Regions from separate parts of the Homo sapiens genome. Here region 2 is linked to region 1. The links are contacts of gene promoters, found by promoter capture Hi-C in human tissues and cell types (Jung and others, 2019). All regions are on one chromosome and are shown on one strand. The core of a region is centred on a gene start or on the middle of the fragment in contact, and the rest is flanking DNA. Distances in the headings are between cores, read along the strand shown.

The links. The method cuts DNA at HindIII sites, captures the fragments that hold promoters and counts their contacts. A contact is called where the count stands out against the background at its distance.
Region 2: a contact is called between a fragment that was not itself captured here and the fragment with the promoter of HSPB3 in region 1, in 1 of the 25 tissues and cell types used here (hippocampus).

What each region holds. Positions count from the first base shown.
Region 1 is chr5:54,452,971-54,457,904 of GRCh38, reverse strand. It overlaps HSPB3 (heat shock protein family B (small) member 3), which reads right to left and starts at 2,206. Exons shown (of 1, transcript NM_006308.3): 1 at 1,528-2,206. The coding sequence starts at 2,115. The coding sequence ends at 1,663. The HindIII fragment of the contact is 2,000 bases long and covers 1,509-3,508 here.
Region 2 is chr5:54,322,763-54,327,696 of GRCh38, reverse strand. All of the region lies in intron 1 of LINC01033 (long intergenic non-protein coding RNA 1033), which reads right to left. Among named protein-coding and RNA genes, the nearest start is that of LINC01033, 4.3 kb to the right of the region's middle. RefSeq lists a cis regulatory region at 1,845-1,862 and an enhancer at 1,782-1,926. The HindIII fragment of the contact is 4,465 bases long and covers 700-4,934 here.

The DNA.
Region 1 (4,934 bases), core at 957-3,456:
GAGTAAGATCAAGGCCGAAAGAGAGGGTTTTTTTGTTTCTCACCACATTAGTTTCTTTTCACACTATTCTGCCAATCACTGGGAAAGAATGATAATCCAGACAAATGGTATCCCAGTTCTGATCATATTAGTAGATCTGGAATCTCAACGACTGCTATTAACTTTGTTATGCAGCCAAGCTGATCTGTGATATTCACTTGGTCAAACAAAATTTTTCATATCTGAGTTGGACACACAAACCTCCATGTATAGGCATAAACCTCAGATATGCATATAACTGCAAAATCTTTTCAATTTAATTAGACAGTAAACATTCTTCTCAGATTACATTTGTTTTCAAAATAACTTTTAGAACTGTTTGATTCGTTTTTCTATTGCTTCATGTCTTTTACATTTTAACTTGAGCTACAGTAAAACAACGTGGGGGAGTACTGGGATACTGTCAGCAATCTGCATTTGCCCTGGTGTTTTCCACACCCTGCATTCCATGTCTATTCTTAGCACTGTCCTTGGGCTGCTTGTCAGCTCACATTCAGTGCGGGGTAAAAGGCAGGCAGCCACTGCCTCTGAAGAAATACTTAATGTATACAGAATGAGATAGCAAACCTTTGGAATGTCCCAGAGCAGCTGTTGAAGGCACTAGTCCTTAACCTCTACCAATGTCTCCACCTTGAGCCAAGGCAGTAGTTTGGGAGAATATAATAAGCACCAATCATCAGATGTGCTGTGTAAACTCAGACACGCAGTGTAAGCTCAGGTGTTGAACTTCCATTGGCTGCCAGGCTATTTAAAGCTAAGGATTATGCAGAGATAGCAGATGTGTTACATTTTGCCATCTAAGTTTATGGAGCATCTAAAAAGCACAGATTAAAACTCACTGAATTCAGCAATCAAACTTTTAAAAGTGGTGTCCTTAAGCTTCATATTAATTTACAAGAGGATATGTAAATACATATCTCATGAACATTTTGTACGTGTCCATAGAACTTATACTATCTTTAAAAAGTCAAAACACTTCAGATAGGATTCAGTATATCTTTAAAAAGATGAATGAGGTACATATTTGAACTTTTTAAAAATAAGATTTATATCTGAAAATTCCCATTGACCTTTAAGGCAGTAACAACTATACTAAATCATAAATAGATATCAGACCCAATTTCCAAATACTGTATTTTAATTTTTGCACTCCATATTTATAAAACCTCATTTTAATTAAAATACATTAAAAAGAAAAGCTTATCGAGTGAAGGGAATCACAACTCTTTTTGGCAAAATAAAAGATTTTCATAAAATGGATAGGAATTCCTTAAATGGGTATAGCTCTTTTGCCATCAGTGATTACAAATGCAGCTGGCATTGTTGGAATAATAAGAAACAATTCGGAGTCCTCTCTAATATCCAAATACAGCCTTCTGTATTTTCAATGTTTCAGTTGTAAGAATAGTATCAGTTTGAGCCACACAAACATATTTACAAATTTTCCTTTCTGAGTAAGAATAATAAAGACAACCTCAACATACCAGGAACTGTGTATATATTTTTAATCTTCATAAAAATCATAGCAAATCATTTCAAATGTGGGTAATACAAACATTCTCGTAGTACCAGTGGCTGAACCATCATCTTCCCCATGTCATCTGAACAGGAACCGATACGATGTCACTTAGTCCCAACTGGATCCTTTACTTCCACCACCAAAATTCCATCATGACAGAGGACTGCAGACAAATCTTTGATTTCCACACCATCTGGTAGTTTGTACTGTCGGGTGAAGCTTCTTGAGATAAAACCGTGCTCATCCATTCTGGTTCCGTGTTGTGCTTTTATCAGCAGCCAGCCTTCGAAGGTCTGAATGATGATGTCTTCAGGGAGGAACTGGACCACGTCCAGCAGGATCTGAAAGTGGGATTTGCCTTCTCGGGGTGGCGTCTCTGCCGCTGAGTCCACTGGAGGAGACTGCGCTGCCCTGGTTTTCCTCAGGTCCACGATGGTTGGCCCAGGCAGTGCATATAAAGCATGATCCAGCCTGCAGTCTTCTAGACCTCGAGCTTCAAACTCTTCCTGGTAACGCACTGGAATCTCTATGAGGTGCCTCAAAATGATTTTTGCCATAGTGAAGGCAAAAACAGCCTTGAACAGCCTCCTTCTGCCAACCTTCCACTGCCTTCAGTCAGTGGCGAGCCCCTGCAGTTGCCTACTGACTGGATTACCAGTTGAAGCAGCTAGTGGTTTATAGCCGTGCCCAGACGCAATCACTTAATTAGGCCTGAATCATAGCACGGAATGCTCTCTTGTCTTTTCACACATGCTGACAATGAACGGCTATTTATAGGGCATGTTTCCCAGTGCATTTAGCACACAGCCTGCACAAGCTGCCCAGTCATGGATTGCCCTTACATTCTCAGTTATCCTTGGCAAATGTGTCTGCCTTGCTTACTTCAAGAAAGAGAGTGGGAATCGAAAATGGTATTTGAAAAATATCTGGGTGAGGCCAGGTGCGGTGGCTCATGCCTGTAATCCCAGCACTTCGGGAGGCTGAGGCGGGTGGATCGCCTGAGGTCAGGAGTTCAAGCCCAGCCTGAACAATGTGGTGAAACCCTGTCTGTACTAAAAACACAAAAATTAGCTGGGCATGGTGGCTTATGTCTGAAATCTTAGCTACTTGGGAGGTTGAGGTAGGAGAATCGCTTGAACCAGGAGGCAAAGGTTTCAGCGAGCCAAGACCATACCGTTGCACTCTAGCCTGGGCAATAGAGTGAGACTCCATCTCAACAAACAAACAAACAAACAAAAACCAAAAATATCTGGGTGGGTGCTTTCTCCCTGTGAACTTCAGTAATCTAAGGGAATAGGACTTCTTAGAACAGTCAGAGATGTTCACTCATAATATGAACTGGGATCACATTTTCCCTCGTCTCCAGATACAAAGCTGGGGAGGGCAGAATCTAGCTGTAATTCAGAAAGAATTAATACACACATATTCAAATCTCAGCCATTCAACAAACTGCCCTGTGTCCTATGCATTTCCTTTTATTTTATCTTTTAGTCTTTTGGGCTAAAAGACACATTATCTGGGTTTATTTACATCTGACTCATCAAAATTAGATCAGATGACTAAGCTAGAGAAGTGACAAACGTCAGATGGGGGCTGCAGGGGCATAGGATGGGGAATTTTAGTGATGAAAATAGAGCCACAAAGAAGAGAAAAATGTCAAAGCTTTGAATGATTTGATATGAACCTCCAAAAATCTAAGGATTAATCTTGTCACAGCTCTGCTACTGAGTTGGCAAAAATAAATTAAATATAATTTCCCCACTATATCACCCTTTATACTAAACTTACCCTGAAAAAGAATGAGGCAACTCCTTATCCACAGCTATGGAAGAATCTCCAAGATATGTTAAATCAAAAAGAAAAGTCCAGGGCAATATATGATATGCTAGTGTTTATACTTTTTTTTTTTTTGAGACAGAGTCTTGCTCTGTCACCCAAGCTGGAGTGGGTGACAGCCTCGAAGTCCTGGAATCAAGAAATCCCTCACTCTCAGCTTCCTGAGTAGCTGGGACTATAGAACCATGCCACCATGCCCAGTTAGTTTTTTTGATTGTTTTTTTAGAGATGGGGGTCTTGTTATGTTGCCCAGGCTGGTCTCTAACTCCTGGCCTGAAGAGATCCTTCCACCTCATCCTCCCAAAGTGCTGGAATTACAGACGTGAGCCACTGCACCAGGCCTTATTTATACTTTTTTAAAAAGTATGTATTTGCTTATATTAATAAAATCTCTCTGAAAGCTTTGTAGCTGAAGACAGTGGGTGCCTCCTGAGAGTGATTGGCAGGTGGGGGCTGGAAGGAGACCTAATTTTTTACTGTAAATACTTCTGTGCTATTTATTTACTTACTATTTTTATTATTATTTTTGCCACCATCTTCTTTGTGATAGTGTGTGCTTTTTATTTTATTTATTTATTTATTTTTTTGAGATGGAGTGTCGCTCTGTTGCCCAGGCTGGAGTGCAGTAGTGCCATCTTGGCTCACTGCAACCTCCACCTCCTAGGTTCAAGTGATTCTCCTGCCTCAGCCTCCTGAGTAGCTGGGACTATAGGCGTCTGCCATCACACCCAGATAATTTTTGTATCTTTAGTAGAGACAGGGTTTCACAATGTTGGCCAGGCTGGTCTCAAACTCCTGACCTCAGGTGATCTGCCCGCCTCAGCCTCCCAAAGCATTGGGATTATAGATATGAGCCACTGCGCCCAGCCAGTGTGCTTTTTATTTATAGAGTGTATATGGAATATACCTACACACAATAAATTTTAAAATATGGAAAATTTCTTCTCCATGGAGATTAATATTTTCTTAAATGGATAGACTTAAGAGTACCTTTCCTTTAAAAATATATGCACTTTCTTCAAATGAAAAAATGTCTATATAAATTAAAAATCAGAAAATGGAACAAAAGTCTTCTTTAGCTCGCTTTATAAGTCTAAAAAAACCTCTGTGGACATATTGGCATACACTTAGAAACATGTCCTAACAATGCTGTTCACACTCAGCTTTTTGACCTGCAGTTTACAGGCTGGTGGCCCTCCAGAGGAAAATGTACTCTTTTAGATATGTTAATGTTCTCCGGCTCATAAAATACTGCGGGATGTTGTCATCAGTACTGCTCTTAGTGGAAAGTCAAGAACAGAACTCACTGCCAGTGACAAGAAATAGATATGATCTTAAGGATTTGGCATTCAAACACTAGTAAGATTTACAGCAAAACTGAGGGAAAGCTACAGACATTTCCTACATGCCTCCTACCCCTACACATGTACAGCCTCCCCCATTATCAACACCACCCCCAAAGTGGTACTTTTTTTTTTTTTTGAGATGGAGTCTCGCTCTGTGGACCAGGCTGGAGTGCAGTGGCACCATCTCAGCTCAC
Region 2 (4,934 bases), core at 1,683-4,182, 130 kb after region 1:
CAGCTCATTCTCAGGAGTTTTAAGTTCATCTTTACTTTTCTTCCCACTTGGTCTGGCTGACTTAGAACAACTTCTGGCTCAACACCTAATGCAGAGACAGCAGCCTTGCATAGTCCCTTCCATTGGTAAAACTGTGTAAGGTCTTAGCCCTATAATAAATCCCTTTTTCTATATAGTTGTAACAGTGTTTAGCCTGTTTAGGAATGTTTGATACGCTTATTCAAGTCTATAATTTGCAAATTCTTAAAATAAAAATGAATTTGACTTATAGCTTCCCTTCAAAAACTAAGTTGTTTTATGATGTCTCATACCATTTAAAAATATTCCTTCTTAATAAAAGTTTCAGGCATAAAGTTACATACCTAAACCCTTAGGAAAAAAAATGTACCCATGTAAAATAAAGCTCCATGATGTTATATGTTCATGTGGGACATCTGATTATACCAGCTTGCCTTCATCACTGTACACTCCTCAAAGAATGGGTTTTGGTAGGAAAGAGAAGACCATTAGCTGGGGTTTTGGAAGAGAATTTAATAAAGGGACTATTTACATTGGTGTGAACAGGGGTCTGGGAATCAACAAGGGATGGTGAAGCACCAAGAACTAGCCCCAGAGGGAGCCCTTATCACCTCCATGCATGAAGACACGAAGGACAGAACCAATGTTACCACAGTCTACTGAGAGCTAGAGCCATGAAAGGGGCCGCCAGCAAGGGCTGTGGATGTAGAGGGATGCGGCTATTGCCACACTATGCCATAGCAGGACAGGTGTGCCAGGCGTGAATACTCCAGCCCCTCTTCAACTCCCACCTTCTCGTCTCCAGCTGATGTTTCCCATTGGCAAGGGAGCCTGGGGAATGCGGTTAGTAGGGTGGGTCAGAGAATGGAGAAACGGAGTGTGGAAGAGAACAAACTGAGAATGTCAGCAACATGTGGGACAAAAGGCATTTAGGGCTCATCAGGAACAAGGGACCTAGAGCAATTCCTACTGTGCCATGGGAATCAGAGGGAGAACATAGGAGAGTAAATCATTTTTTTAGCCTGTACCTAGCTGGAGCAGTTCATTTGCAGGACCAATAACAAGTATCCCTTCAGAGGCTCCCCTCAGCCAAGGAAGACAAGGTGCTGAAAATCCCACATTGGTAAAACATCCAACTCTCACTTCTTTAAATAAATTGGAACCTAGAACAGTTAAGCAGGTTAGTGGGAAGAGAATTTAGGTTGCTTAGTTCGGGCTTTTCCTAATCTATGAGGATCTTTCCAGTATTGAGGAGAATAGGCAGTACTTCTAAATACTTCAAAGTACTTGAACATTGAATTACTGCTTGTGAAATATTATATAACATGATACTCAATCCAATCATTAAGGTAAAATAGGCAACAAAATCCACACTAATGAAAGAGCTGTTAAACGACTTCAACGTTTTATATTCTGACCCCAGAAGGCTTATTTGCAGCTCTTGTTCTGCTTTAGTGTCAGTCCTTTTGAGCTGTTAATCCTTCAGGTGGTTCTAATCACAAACAGCTGTACTAGGTGGAGCTCTGCTACCCAGGAAATGCCCTTGTAATACTCAGGAGTCTTGACCCCTTCTTTCTCACTCTCGCTTTCACAAATGATGGTTTGGAAACCTTCAAATACAAAGGGTGAGGCCAGCTCCTAAAGTCCCTTCATTTTCTACTGTCTAACAACTACTGCCTTATCTCATTTAAGTAAAATGTTAGCCAGTAGAGGCAACCTCAAGATCCTAGAGACATCTTTGCCTCCTCTCTCTTTTGATCCCCGTATCTAATTATTTCAAGGCTTCCTATTTTTTCTTTGGCAGTTGCTTTCCTCCTCCAGTCATGCTTATCACCCTGGTCCAGAACCTCACCCTGTGCATTCTTAGATAAGCCTCAATGCCTTTTAACTGAAATATCTGCTTCTAGGCTCTTCCCCTACATTCTATCTTGTTTTCTAGGAATTAGTACTATTTTTAGAACATTACCTGGAGAGACTATAGTGGCTTCCTGTCAGAGCCTGATCTCCTCAACCATAACATTCAAGCCCTCCATCAACCGGACACATCTCACAACCTGATTTTGCCACTCCAGTCAGGCTGTTTAATAAAAGATCATGCTTAATTCTGCCTTTTTCAGTCCCTTAGAATTTACCATCCCCTCCCCTAAATAAACCACGTTCTTTATCTCATGTCCTTCTATGTCCTACCTCTTTTCCAGGGTTTGAATTATAGGCCCCAGTAGTACTTTTCTTGCACAATCTAGCCCTTAATTTCCCTTCTGCTAGGATCCAGGTAATCCTTGACAATCATGGGTAAGAAAAAAAATATTTTGAGGGCTTACTATATGCCAGGTGCCATTCTAAGTGGTTTATAGCTTTGCATGTATTAAATAGTTTAATCCAAACAATTTGTGTGGAGTTGGTTTCTATTATCAGCACTTTCCAGGTAAGGAAATTCAGGCATCGAAAATTTAAATAACTTTCCCAAATAAAAGGTGGGATGTGAGTTGGAACTTGCGTGGAATTCATCTCCAGAATTCACATTGTTAATTGCCATGTAATCCTGCATCCCACTAGGAACGGGGGCAGGATTTTTGTGAGCCTATTGCATTGCAGAGCACCTATTACACAGGACAGCTTCACAGTTAACTGCCATTTTCTCCCAGTTAGTTGATGCTATGATTCTGATGCAAATTTATGCGTCAAGTGTTAAACTACCCTATTTGATGAGGCATTTGATTGAAAACTGTTACAAACGCATATTAACTTCACACCTGTGGTTCTTTCAATAGAAGTCTTTTCTGAGCAAAGTCTATTCAGGTAGCATAAGCAGTTCGCCCACTGAAGGGACTACCCCAGCTTTCAGTCATTTGATGGGTTGCCTACACAGCCTTTTTTTCTTTGGAGCTGATTTAACTCGCTTAATTTTGTACTTGTCAAGCACAGTGAACATGATGAATCCCTCCTAGGTACCAATTTATTAAAAACATCTATTAATTTAAAAAATGTGCCACAGCTTGAATTTTCTCTTACAAAAGCAGGAATTTGTTCATTTGTAAACAAGCTTCCTGTTCCTTTCTCAAGGTTTACATCCATGATGTTGTAAAGGCTGGGACATCGCTCCTTATCAACTTGCAGGTTTTAAACAAGTCATTCTTGCCCTTCTTTCTGTTCTCAATAAGAGGGATATTTTAGTCCTTCGGAAAATGTAGCTTATCATTTTTGATATGGTACAAAACAGCATTTCCTCCCTTTCTGTTGCATGACCCTGCAGTGACAATCTCTGTTTTACAACTTTGGACAATGATACAAAGTTGTGTTTATGGTCAACCTATGCTGCATTCTACATAAAACTGGAAATTTTAGTAACTCATATGGGACCACTGAAGGAAACATAAGACTTGAGGAGACCCAGACATGCTAATTTGGTCTACTATTTAACCATTACTGCAATCCTGCAAAACATAAATAAGCATACCTGAAGGTGACCAACTATATCACCATGTACTCAAAATAGGGCATTTGTCTTTCATAAGATTCATAATCCTCAGTGGAGGCTTTCCTGTGTGAAAACAGTTTTCACATTTGTTTCTGGGTTCACATAATTCTTAAAACATTTTGAGAGTAGTTTGTCAAGTTTTAGGATTGTGGTATGTCAAATCATTTTCACAAAATAACCTTTGATATCCTAAGAACTAAGTATTTTATTATTGCTTTGTCTTGTGAAATGCCCTATGAACAATACCACTCATAACTGTGATATTCCTGTATCCACACAGTAATTGTAGCCTTTTCCTGAGAGGTTTGAGCAAATAGAGCCCCACTGCTTCCCTAACCAGGCATAATAACCACACCTCTAACGACTGTTAATTACTTCTCATAAGAATGTTGAGGCTGAGATAAACAATGCAATAGTGAGTTTCTTAATTTTGAATAGGAGCTGCACATGGTCTTAATATTGCTATAATTTCCTTTTCTTACCATAAATAACTCATTGAAGTGTCCCTTTGTGGTAAAAACTGATTGTTTATTCTCTGACAAAACAAAATTGTTAATCTTGCTATGACATGGCTGAGTTATCTGAGCTTCCGGCCTTCTTACTGAAGAGTTTGGCATCTGAGATATAATACTTTTTAAAGGGTGTAAACTGAATTCCCACTTAATATTAGTAAATAACATTCTGTACTAGTATGGACCAGGCAACATTTTTTATTTTTATTTTTCTCCTTCTAAATATATCCTAAAAGTTGAGGACCAGTGAGGATTACTGGCATAAGACAAAAGCTGATATTTTTCCTTGGTAATTCAGTCAAAGCATCACTTTCATCTGGATACTTTGTACTTTGTATGTGGTCTGGAACTTTTAGTTTAGTAGTCTAGACATTATCAAAGTAATATGTTGAATGGAGAACATTTATGAATATAAGTGATTAGGAGTTTGAGATTCAAAGTATTTCTTCCAACACAGCTATTTTATATAATAATTTATCTGTTATTTTACTTATAGGAACTGAGAGCTCTACCTAGTTGTACGATCTCTATAGATATTTCTGCTACCAAAGAGAAGTGCAGAGATTCTCCATTTATGTGCACTGCCATCTGTCACATGGAGACATAGTGTTGTGTCCACTACGTAACATACAACTAAAGCTTGTACATTACAATGCTACCATACAACCATCCTGGAGGGCAGGCATGGTTTATATCAATGGAAGTGGGCAAATGAACCAAGCAGCCTGTTGAAACGTTTGAGAAATTTAATGATTGATCACTCACTTTAGTTGCAGCAGAGGGTCTCCTACGGATGCATCTTATGGCTTCCATATAGGTAATACAAAATATAGAGCTTAGTGGCACACAAAGCCAGCTTACTATTCCTGGATTGCCCATCTTACCATTTCTTCTGATTCTGAGTTATGCTGCAGAGAAGAATCAAC